Regions from separate parts of the Homo sapiens genome. Here region 2 is linked to region 1. The links are contacts of gene promoters, found by promoter capture Hi-C in human tissues and cell types (Jung and others, 2019). All regions are on one chromosome and are shown on one strand. The core of a region is centred on a gene start or on the middle of the fragment in contact, and the rest is flanking DNA. Distances in the headings are between cores, read along the strand shown.

Region 1 (3,894 bases), core at 841-3,340:
TCATCCTGTTTTCCATAGTGGCTGCACCATTTTACAGTGCCCTCCATTAACACTTTTTCAGGCTTTTGAAAAACTTAAAATATTTGCTCCACAATTTTTGCATGCTTTATTTAGTGTATGTACAGAAAAGCCTTTCCATGTTCTCTACCAACATTTTTTGAAATAACCTATTTGAACTTTTTTTAGGAAATGTGTTATATTGTTTAAAGTGTCAGTGAACTGGCTGGGCGAGGTGGCTCACCTGTAATCCCAGCACTTTGGGAGGCCAAGGTGGGCAGATCACTTGAGGTCAGGAGTTCAAAACCAGCCTGGCCCACATGATTAAACTTTGTCTCTCCTGAAAATAACAAAAAAAATTAACTGTAAAAAAAAATCGCCTGTAATCCAAGCTACTCGGGAGGCTGAGGCATGAGAATCACTTGAGCCTGGGAGGTGGAGGTTGCAGTGAGCCAACATCACACCAGTGCACTCCAGCCGCAACAGAGCAAGACTTTCTCAAAAAACAAACAAACAGGCAGTGAATTGTTTACGAAGACCTAAACGGCATTTTTTTTTTTTTTTTTTGGGACGGAGTCTCACTCTGTCACCCAGGCTGGAGTGCAGTGGTGCGATCTCGGCTCACTACAAGCTTCGCCTCCCGGGTTCACGCCATTCTCCTGCCTCAGCCTCCCGAGTAGCTGGGACTACAGGCGTCCACCACCACGCCCGGCTAATTTTTTGTATTTTTAGTAGAGACGGGGTTTCCCCATGTTGGCTAGGATGGTCTCGATCTCCTGATCTCGTGATAAGCCCATCTCGGCCTCCCAAAGTGCTGGGATTACAGGCGTGAGCCACCGCGCCCAGCCCTAAATGGCATTTTAAATATCCGGATATGCTTTTACCACATTACACTAAGGTACAGCCAGCCCCCCATTTCCATGGATACTGCACCCATGAATTCGACTAACCTCAGATTAAAAATATTTTGGGAAAAAAAGAAATTCCACAAAGTTCCCAAAAGCAGAGCTTGAAGTGATGTGTAGGTGTAGCATTAGGTGTTATTAGTAATCTGATTTCAAATATAGTAGAGGATGCGCTGAGGTTATATGTAATTACTACCCAGGTCATTTTCTATCAGGGACTTGAGCATCCACAGTCGGTCCTGGAATCAATTCCCCACCGCCACCCACACCAGAAACGCTACTGTATTTACTTCATCCCTCAAAGACTGGCTGTGATCTAAAGCCCTCATCTACAGCCGTTTCCTGAGTCATTATCATTATCACCTGGGGAGCTTTTGAAAAGTAAAGAATCTAGGACTCCACCCAAGCCTCCTGAATTAATTTCCAGAATCTGTTATCAGTCAAATGCTTCCCCAGGCCATTCAGGCGGTGAGCCATGTATGTGAGCATGTCTGTGACTAGCTTGCCACAGAGGTATATTATTCTCATTTTGCAGATCAGTAATCTGACACCAATGTCATGTTCATCCTGTTGGCCCACCTGGTGCCTCCAGGCTGCAATGCTTTTGCTTATACTACTCCTGCCTCCTTTCTAGACCTGGAGAACTCCTACTCATCCCACAAAGCCCAGCTCAATAGCTGCCCCATTTGTGGGCCTTCCCAGCAGGCACTGGGAATGGCACTAAGCCCTGAGCTACCTTAGCCTCGGCTTCACCACGCAGGACCACATTATCTCATGTGGATAAGCTTGTGCCTGTGGTCCCTTTACGGGGGGTGTTCCTGGGGCCAGGGCTGGGCATGGACATTGCTGCGCTCCTAGACCTGCACAGAAGTGAGTTTTCCAGTGCGGGTGAGAACGGCCCCCTCTGACCCCCACCGCGGTCCCACACGGGCAGGGGTCAGTGCGCAGCCCTCCCCACAGCCTCCCCTCGTGCCCAGGACTCACTCTGCTGCCCTGGGAGGCCCTGGCCCATTCCCTACGCGAGGGATTGAACCGCACGACCACAGTCACCCAGGTTCTCCCCTCCTCATCTTCGTAGATGCCAGGCCTCTGGATCCACAGACGGCCAGGGGGCACCCCTAGACGCACAGAAGCTTCGGAGGCCATGGCAAGTCTGCAACCGGGACCCGCCTCTAGGCTCACACGTGTAGCTTTCCAGCTGCGCAATCTCCTTAAATGGAGCAGCTCCGGCGTGGGTGGGGCCCGGGCCGGCAGTGGGGGCGGGGCCGGCAGTGGGGGCGGGGCCAGTCGGGGGAGGAGGGGGAGGAGGAGGAAGGGGGAGGAGGGAGGAGGGAGGAGGGAGGAGGAGGAGGGGGGAAAAAAGCAACCTGCAGCAGGGGCTAGGCAGGGACGAGGCCAAAGAGCAGCGGAGTTAGGAACCCGGCCTGGGTCTCCTGGAGGGGCTGTGGCTGGACCGGCAGCTGCTGGAGGCAAAAGGGCGGCTCCCGGGGATAGAGCTGCCCAGGCTTCACCCCAGGCCTCTGCAAGGAATTTGGCTCCTAAGACCTATTCCACCTCCCTTCCACTGGTCCCAGTCCCTCCGCAGCCTCCTCCCTGAGCACCCCTGCCCAATTTTCTGTCAGGTGATTCCCCTCCTTTGCTCCCCACGACCCCCTGCCAACCATCCTGCCCCAGATCCTGAGCTGGCATGCACGACCCTGGTCTCTCCTATCCCTGTGGCCATTCCTTTAACAGGACTCTGTGTCAGGGACCCTTCTCTGAGCTTAGAGCTTAGAGGCATGGGGGGCGGGGGGCGCTGTAACCTCAGTGGACTCTTGCCCCTGGAGGTATCTGGTGAAGGCGCATCCTGCACAAATCAAGCTCCCTCTCCTTAGAAAATAAGCCAGTGCACTATCAGCATCTGAGCTCAGGATCAGATAAAGCCCACAGAAACAAGGCCACCGGAGGCCACGTGGCCACCTGGCCAGCCCATCCTTGGCCATGGGGCCCAGAGTGCCCACTTGGCCTGGTCGTCTTACTTGCTCGACTTTGTCAAGAGGCCTCAGAAGCTCAAGAACATAGCAAGAAGCAGGTCCGTTCTATAAGCACCCTGGGCTGCTTCTAAATGCACCATGAATAGGAACCTTTTCCTTTTGAAAACCACAAGCATGATTCTTCTAGTTCAAGTGAAGATTAGTATTGAGATGATGCCATTCTGCTGGGGAGATGTGAAAATGATTTCTGGACAGTCCTGATCCAGTGTAAATGGCAGGTAGGATAACCACTTTTGAAGAACTCCCTGGGCAGCTTCTGTGGAGGACTGAGTCTTGTTTTCACAGCAATTCCACCTCCATCCCCAGTGTTTTTCCAAGGAACCAACACTTGGGGTGGGAATGGAGTGGGCCAGGAAGACAAGGGACATCACAGTCTCATATAATGTGATCCATACATGGAATCACGTACGTGTGTCACCTTTGCCATATTCCATTGGTCAGGGGTAGGTCCTATCCTTACTCAAGGTTATGAATACCAGGAGGCAGGGATCATGGGGACCCCTGGTCTCCTGGGCCCCCCTGAAGCCTGTTTGCTGTAGGTACCTACCCTATGGGACTCCTCTGAGGATCAGATGAGGCTGTGTGTATAGTGTTAAAGCCTGACACATAGTGAATACTTGAAATACCCTGGTCAATAGTTATGTTCTCAGACTAGTTCCCTCTCCCAGGCAGAATCCATCATTCCTACCCTTGTAACCCCAATGCAATTGCTATTTATCTCTATCATTTTCTGTTGCAAATATATATTTTGATATTCTCAACCTCACTCCCTGATGGGCAGGTGTGTGGCTGTCAGTGGGGTTGGAGGTAAAGGTTGCCTAATATGTGGGGAGCCCCTATGCCATGTCAGGCATTTTTCATAGGGTATCTCACTAACACCTCCCAACAACTCCATAAACTAGAGACCGTCACCCCCATTTCATAGATGAAGTATCAGAGGCTTGAGTGGCTTAGCAACC
Region 2 (3,894 bases), core at 972-3,471, 51 kb after region 1:
TGCTACAGGATGACCTCAGATGAAAGGGAGAGGAACGTTGAGTCAAATCTTCTTGGTCCTCCTTTTGGAGAAACTTGGATGTCAACTGGGTATTAAGAGATGCTATGGAATTATTGTTGATTTCCTTGGGTATATCTATAAAATGGAGATAATAGTATGCCTGTCTCCATAGGTTGCTGTAGGCTTTAAATTCAGCATTAAGTTAGGCGCATCTTCAAGAGGTGCTGAACACAGAATAGTGCTCAGTCAGTGATACTGATGAACAAACATGATGCTTCCATCTGGTCCAGGGCTGGGCGTGTAGTAGACACTCCCAGAATGTCTTTGAATTAGAAAAAGAAATGGAGGCATGAGCATGTGGGGATTTCATGTGGCACCACCCGGAGCGTGTTTTGATGGTGCAAGGAAGAGAGGAGAGTGGAGCCCCTGCTCAGGATTCTGCAGGGATGGGGCTGAGCCTGAGCAGATGGTGAGGTGAAAGGTTCCTGCTCCTCTTCCCTCTACCTTCAGCAGGCAATTACCTACGTGCTTCTCTCATTTCTATGACAATGACGCCCCTCCTGGGCCCAGGGAGCTGAGGAAGGGGAGCTGCTTCCCTGACAGTTCTGGAAAGACCCAGGCTGAGGCTGACAGGGGGAGGAAGATTTTGCCAGGCTCTGTTGGGAGACTCAGAATCACTAACAGTAATGGCCAAAAAATCTACCCACCCAGTGGCAAAATTGTGAGCGTGATCATCAGGATTAATATGAACTGCTTACTGAGACTAGGACTCGGCCAAGGTCCAATTTTTATTGGTTATTTTATTTGAACTGCATATGTTAATTCCATGAAGTAGGAATATTACCACCATTTTGTAGATGAAGAAACTGAGGGTCAGAGGCAGGTGGAGCATCTCCTAGATTCATATGGAGTCAGGATTTAAACAATTGCAGAGCTCTTCCCTGCTACACAAGTTCACAAGTTCCTGAGAAAAAGCCCAAATGATGAGGTCAGGAATAACATCACCCCACCACACACGCTTCACACACACCACACATACACACATACACCAAGAACCCGGTTTAGTGATAAATTAAGATGTAGGGAGCCACACTCCTGTGTCCTGGGCCATTTCCTCCCAGGACCTCTGCGCCTGACATCCAGCATGCCTATTCTTCCCACTCTGCTTAGTGAAGCTGCCCTGTCCCACCCAGCCCCACTCTCACATGCTCCCAGGCTGGAACCTTCCAATACTGTCAGGGTCTCCAGCCTCCCCCCAGCACCTCCCCTGAACATTGGTAGCTGCAGGACAAACCTTACCTACTGGTCAAAACACCCAGAAGTCAAGGCACATCCCTGGCCTTGGATGAAGACAGAGATGAAATACACACCCAGGGATTTAGGGAGAAGCCTCTGCCTTGGACAGGAGTGGCTAATTCCAGAAAAGAACAGAGACTCCACAAAAGGGCATGAAGGGCCCTCCCTGCACTTAGACTGACTCTTGTCTAGCAACTGAGGGGTCTTTAGATGTTGTCTGTTTCAAAACAACTTTTGTGCCCATTGGCCAATATGATGAAAGAAACAGACTCTTATCAATGACATGCTTTCTCTGTCTTTCTATACCTGCATTCATTCATTAACATAGTTTTTGTTGAGCCCTGTCTATGAATTAACTCCTGTTCTAGGTACTGGAGATACAGCAGTGAAGGAAACAGACAAGAACTCCTGGCCTTGTGGAGCTGACATTCTGGTAGATGGATAAGCCCCACATACAGAGGTAGACACACCATGTGTCAGATGGCAACAGGGGCTGTGGAGACAAGCAAAAAAATGGGAGGGGAGTGGCTGCAATTTTAGATCAGAGGTCAGGGAAACCTCACTAGGATGGTTTCATTTGAGCAAAGGCCTAAAGGAGCAGAAGGAGGTAGCCAGGCAGATATCTGGGGAGGCAGCATTCCAGGCAAAGAGAAATGCATGTACAAAAGCCCTGAGGCAGGAGCTACTTTACTTGGTCAAGGAACAGCAGGAGGCCAGCAAGAGCCAGAGGAAGGCAATAGGAAAGGAGGAGAGGTGGGGATGAGGCCAAGTGGTACAAGGCCTTGTGTACCACAGAAAGCTCTTTGGCTTTTCCTTTGAGCATGGCTGGAAGTGATTGGAAGCTTCTGAGCAGTGCTGGAATGTGATCTGACTTGAATTTTAAAAGATGACTGTCTACTATGTGAAGAATAGATGGCTGGGGACAAGGTGGATGCAGAGTCAATGAGGGAGCTCTTGCAATAATTCAGCCAGGATGGCAGAGGCTTGGCCCGGTAGGAGCCTGGAAAGACGGAGAAGGGGTTAGGCTCACACAATGGTGTATTGATGGCTTATATATATCTTCTCCCAGAAGCAGCCCAGCAGGGAGTTAAGAGTGGGACCTCTGGAGTCCAGCAAGCTTGTGTTTTAATCCTGGTCACTCTTTCTCAGCTGGTTATCTTTGAGATAATTGACTTAATTCTCCTAAAGTTCCATTGTTCCTTCATTGGAGAAACTACCTCTGCTACCTCTTAGCTATGCTAAGCTTCCAATGTAGCAATGCCTGTGTATTAGTCCATTCATACATTGCTATAAAGACATACCTAAGACTGGGTAATTTGTAAAGAAAAAAGGTTTAATTGACTTATAGTTCTGCAGGCTGTACAGGAATCATGGCTTGGGCAGCCTTAGGAAACTTACAATCATGGCAGAAGGTGAAGGGGAGCAGGCACATCTTCACATGGCTGGCAGGAGAGTGAGCAAGTGAAGGGGAAAGTGCTACACACTTTCAAACAACCAGATCTCATAAGAACTCTATCATGAGAACAGCAAGAGGCAAGTCCACCCCCATGATTCAATCACCTCCCAGCAGGCCCCTCCTCCAACCATATCAGCCTGTAACACCCCCTCCCTGACCACCACCCAGCACAGCCTCTGACACACAGAAAGCACTCAATAATGATCAGACTTGTGGGGGCTCTTTGATTTCATGACTGTGTTACCAAGACCCACTAGGACAGAGGCCACAACAGCCTCTCTCTGCTGTACTCCAAAATGCCCACTCTTATATCTGCTCCAAATTAAACTCCAGGTTCCATCTGGGAATTCAGGACACTCTGACCCTGCCAGTCTGACCCAGTGGCCATGCTGGTCTTCCCCTTGTGACCTCAGAGATGGCTTATCCCATGTTTATATGTAGGAGCTTTGGAATCAAAATTATGATAATAGTGACTTTTGGTAAGCAACTATTTTTTGTATGAACTCCATTGAACTAATGTAAGACATTAAAATAGTTTTCCACACATTATGAGCTGTGTCTTGCTTTCCCCATGTCCACTAGTCATTTTAGAAATTGTTTTCATAGGATTCGATTTAGGCACAGAGCTGCTGCATCTTACAACTTCAGGAAGTGCTGGCTGGGGGCACCCCTGGCATGCATGGGGCAGCTAGCTATGGGTCTGGGCATGGCTTATCTTGTCCATGTGGTCATACAACAAAGCTTGGATTCACTGAGCAATTGTTGGACCTATCCTGGCTTCTGCCAGGTGGTTGTGCTTAGCATCATTATTTCTTTCAAGTTCACCAGTGGCTTGCTGAACAATGAGGTCAAAGTAGCAGGGTCATGACACCCTCTGGGCCAAAACAGCAGGGTTTTGCCCCAGTCCCTGGTGTTGCTTCTGGCACCTCAGACTCCCCTGGGCTGTGTGGCTCTCATTCCCTTGGCATTCTTGTGACCCCTCCCAGTGGAGAATGCTTAACCCCCATCTCAGACCTGTGCCCACCTGGGGTTCACCACAGCTTGACCTCTTGGGCACTACTGCCAACGTCAAGGTGAGTTATTCATCAGTGTCATCCCAAGGATTAAAAGGAAAGAAGACTCATCCCAGCAATGATCCTCCC

Evidence for each region. Contacts are between HindIII fragments. The study calls those that stand out against the background at their distance.
Region 2: a fragment that was not itself captured here is called in contact with the fragment with the promoter of TCL1B in region 1 in 1 of the 25 tissues and cell types used here (lymphoblastoid cells).

What each region holds. Positions count from the first base shown.
Region 1 is chr14:95,684,622-95,688,515 of GRCh38, reverse strand. TCL1B (TCL1 family AKT coactivator B) reads right to left here and starts at 2,090. Exons shown (of 4, transcript NM_004918.4): 1 at 1,887-2,090. The coding sequence starts at 2,048. The HindIII fragment of the contact is 12,005 bases long and covers 1,862-3,894 here.
Region 2 is chr14:95,633,336-95,637,229 of GRCh38, reverse strand. No RefSeq gene overlaps it. Among named protein-coding and RNA genes, the nearest start is that of TCL6, 17 kb to the left of the region's middle. The HindIII fragment of the contact is 3,788 bases long and covers 328-3,894 here.